Regions from separate parts of the Homo sapiens genome. Here regions 1, 3 and 4 are each linked to region 2. The links are contacts of gene promoters, found by promoter capture Hi-C in blood cells and fetal thymus (Javierre and others, 2016). All regions are on one chromosome and are shown on one strand. Each heading gives the region's core, a stretch centred on a gene start or on the middle of the fragment in contact. The rest is flanking DNA. Distances are from core to core; before and after follow the strand shown. Region 1 overlaps EPS15L1 (epidermal growth factor receptor pathway substrate 15 like 1). Region 2 holds the start of AP1M1 (adaptor related protein complex 1 subunit mu 1). Region 3 overlaps EPS15L1 (epidermal growth factor receptor pathway substrate 15 like 1). Region 4 overlaps EPS15L1 (epidermal growth factor receptor pathway substrate 15 like 1).

What was found. Contacts are between HindIII fragments. The CHiCAGO score rates a contact against its expected background, and 5 or more counts as called.
Region 1: a contact is called between a fragment that was not itself captured here and the fragment with the promoter of AP1M1 in region 2, in 3 of 17 cell types (naive CD8 T cells, megakaryocytes and total CD8 T cells). The highest score is 5.4, in naive CD8 T cells.
Region 3: a contact is called between a fragment that was not itself captured here and the fragment with the promoter of AP1M1 in region 2, in 7 of 17 cell types (naive B cells, total B cells, non-activated CD4 T cells and 4 more). The highest score is 9.3, in naive B cells.
Region 4: a fragment that was not itself captured here is called in contact with the fragment with the promoter of AP1M1 in region 2 in 13 of 17 cell types (naive CD4 T cells, non-activated CD4 T cells, naive CD8 T cells and 10 more); the score reaches 12.4 in naive CD4 T cells.

The regions. Positions count from the first base shown.
Region 1 is chr19:16,368,248-16,371,253 of GRCh38, forward strand. The region is part of intron 22 of EPS15L1 (epidermal growth factor receptor pathway substrate 15 like 1); the gene reads right to left. Among named protein-coding and RNA genes, the nearest start is that of KLF2, 45 kb to the left of the region's middle. The HindIII fragment of the contact is 1,834 bases long and covers 749-2,582 here.
Region 2 is chr19:16,196,187-16,199,233 of GRCh38, forward strand. AP1M1 (adaptor related protein complex 1 subunit mu 1) reads left to right here and starts at 1,725. Exons shown (of 12, transcript NM_032493.4): 1 at 1,725-1,882. The coding sequence starts at 1,841. RefSeq lists a silencer at 1,869-2,108. The HindIII fragment of the contact is 4,202 bases long and covers 324-3,047 here.
Region 3 is chr19:16,420,820-16,423,735 of GRCh38, forward strand. It overlaps EPS15L1 (epidermal growth factor receptor pathway substrate 15 like 1), which reads right to left. Exons shown (of 24, transcript NM_001258374.3): 10 at 500-657. Among named protein-coding and RNA genes, the nearest start is that of EPS15L1, 50 kb to the right of the region's middle. RefSeq lists enhancers at 1-90, 91-694. The HindIII fragment of the contact is 1,649 bases long and covers 692-2,340 here.
Region 4 is chr19:16,397,745-16,400,811 of GRCh38, forward strand. All of the region lies in intron 16 of EPS15L1 (epidermal growth factor receptor pathway substrate 15 like 1), which reads right to left. Among named protein-coding and RNA genes, the nearest start is that of EPS15L1, 73 kb to the right of the region's middle. The HindIII fragment of the contact is 852 bases long and covers 898-1,749 here.

The DNA.
Region 1 (3,006 bases), core at 416-2,915, 170 kb after region 2:
AATGGGACACACACACACAAGCATCACTGATCCTACACAACAGTGGACGCACACATACAACCATCATTGATCCTACACAACAGGGGACACACATGCACAAGCATCATTGATCCTACACAACAGGAGATGGCTACACAACTGTCATTCATCCTGCACAATATGGACACTCACACAACTCCCATTCATCCTACACAACAGAGGATGCCCACACAATTGTCATTCATCCTGCAGAACACAGACACCCACACAACTGTCATTCACCCTACACAACAGGTGATCCCACACATCTCTCGTTCATCCTGCACAACATGCACACCCACACAACTGTTATTCATTCCACACAACAGGTGGTGCCCACACAACCATCATTCACCCTACACAACACAGGCACCCACCTGTCATTCACCCTACACAACAGGCGATCTCACAAAACCATCATTCACCCTACATAACACAGACACCCACCTAACTGTCATTCACCCTACACAACAGGTGATCCCACAAAACCATCATTCACCCTACACAACACAGACACCTATGCAACTGTCATTCACCCTACACAACAGGTGATCCCACACAACCACAACTGTCATTCATCCTACACAACACAGATGCCCATACAACTGCCAGGTTTCTGAGAGTCACGCTGCCTAGGAGAGCAGTGGCCCGGGCGGGGCACCACTCCAGCAGAGCTCATCCAAGGCCACTGACATGTCTTATTCCACCCTCCCCATCCTGCCAGAAAAAAAGCTTAGCTGCGGGGAGAGGGGAGAAAGAAAACAGTATAGGTTCTAAAATTCATCACTGCTCGGGGACTTGTCTTGAAAGAGTGCTTTTCCCCAACACACGTCAACGTCTTCCTCTGGCTCCCATCTAAGACACATGAGGGGAGTTTGTTTTTTACAATGTGACACACGGGACCACGTAAGGGACCTGCAGGCTGGGAGTCCTGCAGGCACCAGCCCCGCGCGCACTCTGCCTTAGATCAAAGCTGTGTCAAGCAGCACAGCCCCGGGAGATAAGAATCTGAGGTCCCTGCGATCGCAGCGTTGAGATTTTCCACTAAAAATATTTACCGAATTTTGAGAAAATCTGCTTCATGCATTGAAGGGAACAGGATGAGGTTTGGTTCTGAACTGTTGAGAAAAGCTGAACAAATATTTACTACGAGCCACTGCTGGCCGCTGTGTTTTCCTGCCCTGTGAGGTGTGTGAGGTGGGCAGGGGGCTGTTGAACCCAATGGCTGTGGCCTCATCTTGCCATTAAAAGAAGAAAGTGGGGAAAAGGTGCTGTGCCTTGGGGTCCTCAAAAGGCAAATATCATTTGAAGTGAGAAATAACAATTTTCTAGAGGTCACCACAAAAGGCTCCCATGACATTTACATAAAACCTGCCAGGCAAGGGCTGCACCAGCCCTGGAAGAAAAAAAAGTGTGTGTGTGTGTGTGTGTGTGTGTGTGTGTAGGGTGGGGTATGTGATTTGGAAATGAATTTACAAATCACAAGCCAGTCTTCATGACAAAAATAATACAGACTGGCAGGTGTCACAATTCTGGCTTCTTTGAAAATTCGCATTTGTTCTCTGGCGGGCACCTTTGACATACCCTGCGTGAACACCCCTGGGTGTCAGCCCCATCCTCTGGGGGGATTTCCAGGGAGAGATGCTATCTATGCATGAGCCAGGCACGGGGAGCCCTGACAGGGCAAGGGGGCCCAGCTTTGTTCCTCCCTACGGAGTGTGCCAATGTCGCAGACGCCACCTCTGCAAAGGGTAGGAAGGCGCCTTGCCCACATGTAACAAGATCCCTGAGAACGCCGTGCAGCGAGTCTGAAAGCTGGTTAGGGGTCGTGCATGAAAGGACCCAAAAGAGCCCCTGGGAGGGGAGCAAGTGAGGCGCAGAGCCCACCAGGAGCTCCCATGGTGGGGGACACTTTTGCTCTCTTTATGGCCAGATTCCCCATTGCCCGAGTGCATGTGATATTTTGCAGTTAGCAGTGGCAGGCAAGGGGCGCGCTGACTCAGGGCTTTGAATAGGAGAGATGAAAGATGAGGGGCCATGTTCACCCCGCCAGAAAAGCAGGGAGGCGGTGCCCAGAGCTGCACCCAGAGCCCCCTTCTGAGGCGTCTGCCCCAGCCCTCACCTCCCTCAGGTGCCAAGCAAGGGGTTGAGGTGTCCTGGAGGCAGGTACACCCGATGTCCCCAGGGCGATGGCTCCCGTCTGTTCACACCTATACTCAGATGCTGGGGTGGGAGCCCAGCCACTCTAGGCCTGCACCCCACCCTGCAGCCCCCCAGGCCTCAGCATTTGCACCCCACTGAACACCAGATGATAATCGAGTCACACGACACTCCCTGGATCCGCCTCTGGGTACAGTGTGCCCAGGAAGGCAAATGCTTCTATTTTCAAACTCAGTGGTCTTTACAGAACAGAAAGTGCTCCAAACGGCAATCTGCCTGCAGTCAGTTTAAACATACAAGGCTGACATTCCTCCCTCTCAGAGTGGGACCGTTCCTTGGCACCGTCAGCAGGTCCCACCCAGCCCTAAGACAGACCTTCCAGAGGGCTCAGACGGAAGCTCTGAAGCTTCCTTGAACACAGCAGTGCTGGGGGATGGGGGGCGTGGGCAGGAAAGAGGGACTCCACCTGGTTGGCCGTTTTAGGCTCCTTGGGACCCCCTCCCCATCCTGGCTGGCAGGCAAGTGCCAGAATTTTCCAGGCCCCTTGAGATGGTGGAACCACTTGTCCCATTGTAGAATTTCACATGTACCCACCGGATTATCTCTCTGAGATCATCGTGGGAACGAAATTGAAGTAGTTAAGTTCAAGGCTGAGGTGCTAACCGCAGGGTTCAAATGGAGATGCCATTTTTAAAGTGGATCTTGTGCAATCAACAAAAGGTTTTGGGACCCACATGGGCACATGATGGGGAGAGGTCACTGAGCCCTGGTTTCGATGTTGGCCTGGCATTTCAGAGAAGTGGGAGAGCTGGCAGCACTTAGGACCTC
Region 2 (3,047 bases), core at 475-2,974:
GGCCTGGAAAATATCACCAGACCAACCCAAAATTACAAAGTCTTCCAGAGCTCATATACCTTCTAAGCTATATGTCTACGTGTAGGTGTGCATTCATCTAAAGACGTAAGTAAGTTATAGTCTTTTAACCCATAACTAAGATCTGAGTCCTGAAGACCTTCCTCTGGAGCCTCAGTAAATTTACTTAATCTAAGTGGGTCCAGGTGCTGGGGTGATTACCCTTATCTTATCTCCTGCTAAATCATGGAGGTTTGGGGGAGTTCCTTCAAACCCCAATAAACTTGTTTGTGGAGGCCTGAGGAGTTTCTTCAGACCGCCAATAAAGCTTGTTTAATCCTAAAAGGGTCCTGTTAAGAATTCCTTCATTATCTTGTCATGCTTCAAGGCCCAGGAAAGGCCTAGGCACAACTCTGGGTGGGCTTTTGTTACATCCCAGCCTTTGTATAAGGGCACTGGCTCTCTTATCTTTTAATATTTAACTTAACCCTTGTAATCCCAGCACTTTGGGAGGCCGAGGTGGGTGGATCACGTGAGGTCAGGAGTTTGAGACAAGCCTGGCCAACATGGTGAAACCACGTCTCTACTAAAAATACAAAAATTAGCTAGGTGTGGTGGCACATGCCTGTAATCCCAGCCACTTGAGAGGCTGACACACAAGAGAATCACTTGAACCCAGGAGGCAGAGGTTGCAGTGAGCCGAGATCATGCCATTGCACTCCAGCCTGGGTGACAGAGTGAGACTCCATCTCAAAAAAAAAAAAAAAAAAAAAAGCAAACAACAAAAACCCTCTCTTGGCTGCTTGCTCTGTGCCTTGAGCAAGAATCCTTCCAGCCCAGGAGTCACTTAGCAGTCTTCAAACATTCTAGTTTGCTTCTCTAGAGTTTCGGTCACATTTCTTTCCTAAGCAAAACACTATATAATTACCGAGTTGCAAAAATCATCTTTCCAAACGCCAAAACGGAGATAAGACAGAAAATAAAAGATGTGAGAGGCAGGCATCCTGGGTAAATCACTCTGGTATTGCAGGGTTGGGATCCCCAGGGTACTATGATGGCTAACTGGAACAGAATGCAGGCATTTCTCCAAAGCCCAAGAGTTCATAAAAGCAAATTAAATATGACTCAATGGATTAATCAAGGGCCACCAGTTGCATTACTGATTACTAACTTTGCAGAAATGAAACACGGTATGTTGGGTCAAGGTTCAGTGAGGCTGGTTTTCATAACATTCCAGGCAATAAACAGGCACACTCATTCATTGATAAATGTTGACAATGACAGGTGGTGACTGTTGATAAGGTTTGATTGCCATTCAGAAAGTTTGTTTGACCTCTTTCCAAGTAACCACGACCTTACCTCTCTCTTTTGAGCTTATCACAATTGGTGACTGTACACTTGTTTCATAGACTTCCCCACCAGACTGTGAGCTCCATAGGGCTGGGCCCCAGGTCGGTTTCACCACCAGGCTCTCTCGCCTAACTCGGCCCACGGGAGGCCGTTTCCAGCTGCTCTGGCTCCATAGCTCAGCCTGGCAGCGGCCACTGGGTGCCCTGATTTGGTCGGCCCCGCCCCACCGGGCCTTACTTCCGGGATGCTTCTGGCGGGAGCAAGAAACATGGTTACATACGACGTAATGCGCCTGCGCACAGTCCGTCCTGCGCCTGCGCATTCCTGACAGCACCTCCCGGACCGGACATAACGGTCCCCGCGCGGCTCCCCGAACCGGAAGTGGAGGTGAGCTGTCGCGGGCGGCGCCCGGCCTTGCTCAACGCCCAGCAGTCCCCACCGTCGCTGCCGCCGCCACCGCCCTCGGCCGCTGCCGAGGCCTCCTGCAGCCATCATGTCCGCCAGCGCCGTCTACGTGCTGGACCTGAAGGGCAAGGTACTGAGGGCTCCCCACCCTCCCTGTTGCCAGGCAACCGGCAGGGGCCTCCGCCCGCGGGGACCCACCCTGTTGCTAGGTAACCGGCTTATGAGCCCCATCCTGGTGTGAGGCAGAGAGGCCGGTAGACCTCACCTGAGAGCCCCATCCTGTTTCTGGGTAACCGGGCGGGGGTCTTAAGTGGGTAATCCCCGCCCTGTTGCTACGTAACGCGGTGGGCTGCAGCCACCGCGTTGCCAGGTAACTGACTGCACCGCCCTCTGCTCCCCGGCGCCGGGGCCGGGGGCTCGGGCCTCGGTGGAGGACCCAGAAGCGGGGCCGCAGCCGGCCTCGGAGCCAGGCAGGGCGTCCAGGGGCTGCGCGACCCTTGGCCGGGGGTGGCGAGGCGTGGCGGGGACTGGGTGCTCTCGAGCCAGTCCCGCCTTCTCAGGGCGTTACAGCTTCTGTTTATCGTGCACTTTCTCTCAGTAGGAATTTCTCCACGTTCATTGTGATAGTGAGTTACAAGGATTAGGTGAGGTGAGTGGTGATCACGAGTGCCGTTTTATAGAGGGAGAAACTGAGGCATGGAGAGGTGAAGCAACCTGACCAAGGTCACAATGGTCACAGAGAAGTAGCAAGTCTAGGAGTCCGATCCAGAATCATTCGTTTATTCAGCTGATATCTGGGGAGCACCTACTAATGCCGGGCAGGGTACTAAGCCTGGGGTCGATTTGTGTTTAGCAAAAAACAGTCCCTTTTTTTTTGTTTTGTTTTTGAGATAGTGTCATGCTCAGTCGTCCAGTCTGGAGTGTAGTGGTGCAATCTCCACTCACTGCAACCTCCGCCTCCCGGGTTCAAGCAATTTTCCTGCCTCAGCCTCCCAAGTAGCTGGGATTACAGGCACCTGCCACTACGCCGAGCTAAATTTTGTATTTTTAGTAGAGGCAGGGTTTCACCATGTTGACCAGGCTGGTCTCGAACTCTTGACCTCGAGTGATCCACCTGTCTTAGCCTCCCAAAGTGCTGGGATTACAGGTGTGAGTCATGTGCCAGGGCTCAACAATCTGTGTTCTTACGGTGTTCACAGGCTGGTAGGGGAGATGGATACCCATCTCCAAAAACACAAATAAATGTCAATTGCAGTGGTGTTGAGGGGCGAGTGTGTTATACAGACAGTCAGCCT
Region 3 (2,916 bases), core at 266-2,765, 220 kb after region 2:
TCGACTGGGCTCTGAGGCACTGACAGGGTCTCCTTGTGCTCACCCTCCCGCCAGGAGCCAAAGCACTGGCCTTTCCAGAGCAGGGCCTCCTGCCCCCGCCCTCACCCTGCCAGGCCACTCTGCTAGAGGCTCCAAGGCCCTGCTGCCCGCACCTCCCGGAGGCGGCTGTGACAAAGTCCAGGCCTCCTGTTAGAGCCAGCATCACAGCCAGCAAGAATAGGGCCCAGCTGTGTAAGCAAATGGCCTGGGAGCACTTAAGACGGACCAGAGGCCCTTCCTACTGAAAGACAGTGAACTGACCGTCACGGAGCGCGGGCTTCGAGCCTTGGCACGTGCACCTTGCTCAGCCTCTGTCAGGCCAGGGAGAATAAAGGACGCCAGACACAGCGGAAGCCTGTGACAGGCTGGAGGGGGCCCCCTGACCACCACCCTCCACAGTCTTCACCCACAGGCCCCCTGGAGCCACCCACAGCCACAACTGCCACCTGTCCGGCCTTACCATATGTGTGCTAGAAGGTTCTGGGTGAGGCCCGAGTGCATGAAGATCTCCTTCACCTCCTGGCCACTCACGTAGCCATCCAGGTCCAGGTCGGTCTTCAGGAATATCTCATCAAATCGCATCTTGTCTGCCACGGGCACCACCCAGTTCACTGTTGGCTGAAACAGTTTTTGGCAAAACAGTTAATCTGGAAGCTTTTTATGACCCCCAGACACATGCTTTTTGATGATGGGGCGATTAAAGCACTTCCATGCACATTTGGCATCAAACTCTCCTCACTTCCATGAGCCAAGAGGGCAGATGTGATCCTTGTTCTGTAACTGGCAAAACTGAGGCTGAGACAGGTTGAGGCTGGCTCTGTGAAGCTCACCCAGATGCCAGTCTGCACCTCTCTCCACCCCATCACCCGCTCTCCTTGTCCATCCACCCTGCCACCCAGGGTGTGAGGGAGGCTGTGATCTTCAGGGGATGGGTTCAAGCATGCCAGGAAAGACCCTCCCGAGCACCCACTTGGAAGGACCGTCCCTGGAGAACCGGCCCGGCCACATGCCAGCCTCCCTGGTCCTCCCACTCCTCAGCCCGCAAAGGCTGCCCTACAGGCAGCCAAAGTGTCCTGTCCCAGGACTCTGAAGACCACCCTTCTATGTCCCTGCCCCACTCCTGAGACAACAAAGATACCCCCAAGGTGTGAGTACACACACGTCACTGACAGGTAACAAATGAGACACCACCATCCAAGAGGGCCACCACCCACGAGGCCCCACCAACATTCATGCAGCCCCAACCCCACCAGGGCAGATGGAGCCACGAGCCCAGTGCAGCTCAAAGTTCACAGCCCTGGGGCTGGGTCACCCGCTGCACGTGCGACCCCTCTCGCCACCAGCTCACAGTTAACTTGAGAGAGGCAAACGCCATCATGGGTCAACCAGGGCCCGGTCACCTCCTGGTTCAGAGGCATTGAGGCCCCTCAGGCACTCAGGGGCAGGCCCCTTCCGTGGCCTACTCCACCTGCATTACCGCGGGCCTTCAATACACCCACCACGCCACAGTTCACGGCATCTGTGTCCTGAACTCTAGACGTGCTTTTCCTCTTCCCTTTTTTTTTAAATATTTACACAAATCACTCCTTTTAAACAATCTCATAATAGCAATGAGAATAAACACCTGATTGAATTATCTAGATGATGAGGGAGTGGAGAGAAAAAGGACAGGCAAATGTGGCTGGAGGGATCGATTGTTCCTTCTCCACGCAGCAACTGTACAGAAAAGCCACTCCACTCCTCACCTTCAATGAACGCCATGATGCCTGAAACTGCCACTCAAAGTCATTCCTCTCAGTTATGAAAGGATTTCTTAGGCTGGGTGCAGTGGCTCACACCTATAATCCCAGCACTTTGGGAGGCTGAGGTGGGTGGATCACCTGAGGCCAGGAGTTTGAGACCAGATTGGCCAACATGGTGAAACCCCCTCTCTACTAAAAACACGAAAAATTAGCCAGGTGTGGTGGTAGGCACCTGTGATCCCAGCTACTCAGGAGGCTGAGGCAGGAGAATTGCTTGAACCTGGGAGGCAGAAGTTGCAGGGAGCTGAGATTGTGCCACTGCACTCCAGCCTGGGCGACAGAGCAAGACTCCGTCTCGGGGAAAAAAAAAGGGGGGGGGGATTTCTCAAAGAGTTCTCACAGTGTTGACAACCCGAAGATGTCCATAGGATTGAGGAGAAGGGACTCATGGTCAAGACTGGGAAACAATGGTTAAACTCGTTTACTCTTCATGAACGAGTCTCCTGTGATGTCCAAATCTAACAGGCTCCTGATACCAACTCAGGGAAATCAGAAAGCAAGCTTGGGAAACAAGGGATACCATGTGACCCAGATCAGCTTAGTTCAGGGGTTTCACGTAGCAAGTATGTGTGATGAAGTACAGCAAGGACTTGATCAAACAATTTATCAAAATCCATGGAGCTAGGCCAGGCACAGTGCTCATGCCTGTAATCTCAGCACTTTGGGAGGCCAAGGCAGGAGGATCCCTCAAGCCCAGGAGTTCAAGACCAGCCAGCATAACACAGCAAGACCCCATCTCTACAAAATAAATAAATAAATAAAATTAGCTAGGTGTGGTGGCATCCACCTATTCCAGCTACTAGGGAGGCTGAGGTGGAAGGATCACTTGAGCCCAGGAGGTTGAGATAGCAATGAGCCGTGATTGCACCACTGCACTCCAGCCAGGGCAGCAGAGCAAGATCCTGTCTCTTATATATTTAAAAAAAAAAAATCTATGGATCTAATTCAAATGATGAGAGTTCAGATGGCAAGAGCAACCTGATTTTTACTTGTGGCATTGTACTGTGTAAATTTTGTGAGCCTTCTCAAGTCTGGTGGACGTAAAGATGCCAATAAAGGAATTCTAATGAGAAAT
Region 4 (3,067 bases), core at 74-2,573, 200 kb after region 2:
AAATATTTACTTTTGAAGAGCACATTTTTGTAATGGGAAGTAGTCTGAAAAGGGTGGGTTTGTCATATACATGGGAACAATACAGTTGGTTTAAATAAGGACTCTGTTTTAGTTAATAAAGACACACCCTCAGTGAAAACATGAATGTTTCACTGTGATATTAAAAAAACAGCACAACACCCTCATTGAATTTGGCAGACACACTGGCATTCCTGCGTAGGACTCACAAACCAGTCCAGTATTCCAACCGACCAAAACAAAATCATTAAAAAGCCGGGGCGTCCACAAAAATAGGGACAATGGTGTGGGGAAATGACATCAAAGGTCCAAAAGAAAGTTTCCTAGCAAGGCTGCCACCACCCTGGGGCAGCCAACTTAGGGGTGCAGGACAGTTATGAGAGGTACAGAGTTAAGACAAGCCACCGGTCTGGGCTGTGAATGAGTGTGAATCAGCATGAGTGCCGCTTCCTCGGCCCCCACTTCAGGAGAATGCACCCACATCCCTGCCATCTGATGAACATGGAATGGTTTTTCTTACCTGGGAAAGAATAGCTGGAGCCTCCGACCACAGGGTTTTCCCAAGGTGGGGAAACCAAGCCGGGTTCTTAGACAAGTTAAGTACAGATGTCCACAAGCACTGCAGCTGGAGACAGTGCTGAGTGGACGTCAGGTGCTGACGACCACAAGACACACACGCCCAGCAAGCGTCTGATGGGGGTCTCGGATGCAGATAAAGATGGAGAAGTCCTACTCTAAAGAAGCCAGGAGGCCCACGTGGAAAATCTGCCTTTCACACTGCCCCATGGAAGGAGGAATGTATTTGTTCCAGAAGAAAGAGAGGAATCATGACCTGGATAAAGCAGCGAGTTAAGAATGCCAGCTTGACCTCAGAATGAAAGCTTCTATTTAGTTTGTTTTTAAAGGTAGGATCTCACTACGTTGCCCAGGCTGGAGGGCAATGGCTATTCACAGGTGCAATCCCACTACTGAGCAGCGTGGGAGTTTTGACCTGCTCCGCTTCTGACCAGGGCAGGTTTACCTCTCCTTAGGCGACTGGTGGTCCCCTGCTCCCAGAAGGTACCATACTGATGACTAACTTAGTGTAGACACCCAATCAGCATAGCACACTACAGCCCAGAACTCCCGGGCTCAAGGATCCTCCTGCTTCAGCCTCCCAAGTAGCTGGGACTACAGGCACTCGCCACCATGCCTGGCTCTATTTAGTTTTTAATTGGCATTTATTTATAAGGTTTTTTTTTTTCAGTGTTTTCAGTCGTCACTTGGAAGACTGCCAAGTAACAGTGAACAATGGCAGAGAAGAGACTGAGGTTCTGGGAATGCTGGCTGCAAGCCCCCTGCACTGACAGTCAGGCCTGCAATCACTTTCTCAGGAGTCATTGGCCTGAAGCCACAATCACTCCTTCCCCTTCCAAGGGGAAGCCTGAGACCCCAGCAGGATTCAGGAGGTCAGGGTAACTAATAGTGGTTTTGATTCCATTGCACAGAATCAGAGTGGGAAACGAGATTTCCCTGTTACAAAGATACCATCAACTCTACCCCTTGCAGACCACCTACTAAGGAGAACAGACCCATCTGCCAACTTGGGGGACACGAGTACAGCAGACAAGGGCCAGGATGAATGACACGGCCCTTGGCAGAGATGTAATATCTTGAACAAGTTCAGCAACCAGTGTGAAGTTGTACCCTTCTTAGGAAATACACACGGCAACTCTGAAAGGGGGCTGAAGAAGCTTCTGTGACATTCCCGCCCTTTAGAGGAGTGCTGGGCAGCAGGGGTGTGCTGGGAATCAGTTCTCTCAGAAAAAAGCCCTGGTTTAGAGCTTCTGCCAATTCCTGTGGTGTAAACAGTCTCATCATGGTTGATTTCAAGTTTCCAAGCAACTAGCTCACAAGTTCCTGTTTTTTGCTTTTTGGGGTTTTTTTTTTTTTTTTAGAGATTGAGTCTCGCTGTGTCACCCAGGCTGGAGTGCAGTGGCACGCAGCTGGCCTCAAGCAATCCTCCCACCTCAGCCTCCCAAAGGACTGGGATTACAGGTGTGAGCCATTGTGCCCGGCCAGTTCCTATTTAATAATCGGTTCTGGAAAGTCAATAAAAACTGGCTCCAGCATGCCACTGGGTCTGGATGTGACAGATCAATCAACCTTTCTTAATCTGTCCTCAGTAAGGCCTAAGTCTGGGATGATTTATTAGCTTCTCTCCATAAGTTGATTGGATGGTGAGCAAGAGGTCAATATTCTCATAATCAGATGATAGACAAGAAATAAATATGGCTTTAAGAACCCTGACTTTGGCGGGTGAGGTGGCTCACGCCTGTAATCCCAGCATTTGGGGAGGTCGAGGCGGGCAGATTGCCTGAGGTCAGGAGTTCAAGACCAGCCTGGGCAACACTGTGAAACCTCGTCTCTACTAAAAATACAAAAATTAGCTGGGCATGGTGGCACGTGCCTGTAATCTCTGCTACTCGGGAGGCTGAGGCAGGAGAATCACTTGGACCCGGGAGGCAGAGGTTGCAGTGAGCTGAGATTGTGCCACTGCACTCCAGTCTGGGAGACAGAGCGAGACTCCGTCTCAAAAAAAAAAAAACAAAAACAAAAAAAAAAAAAAACCCCTGACTTTTGAGATAAAGTCACACTGCGTGAGCTTCACATGGAATTTAGTAACCTGAGTAGAACTGTCCAAACATAGGAAGTTCCAGATGTACCACTGTGGATACACTATTCTCAGGGACCTAAAACCCCCAACTTCGACCCACAAGGGAGAACTAAGACACCTCTCTCTCGGCTCTGAAGCAGTCTTGAAGTGTTCAGGAGTAAACAAAAATCTCTCTTCCAAGTATTTATTAAGAAATAGAAACAAGCCAGAAAAATGCTTTAAAAACTGTATTTGTACAACAGGATAAAAACAGTTTTTCTTTCGGATGCCAGTTGCAAGTTTCCATGTAACGTATCTTAATCTACATTCCCAAAGTAATTGTGTCTCAGGTAACCTTTGCCCTGCCCAAAAGATGAACAAAAATAACCAGAAAGGTAAAAATCTGTCTTTGGA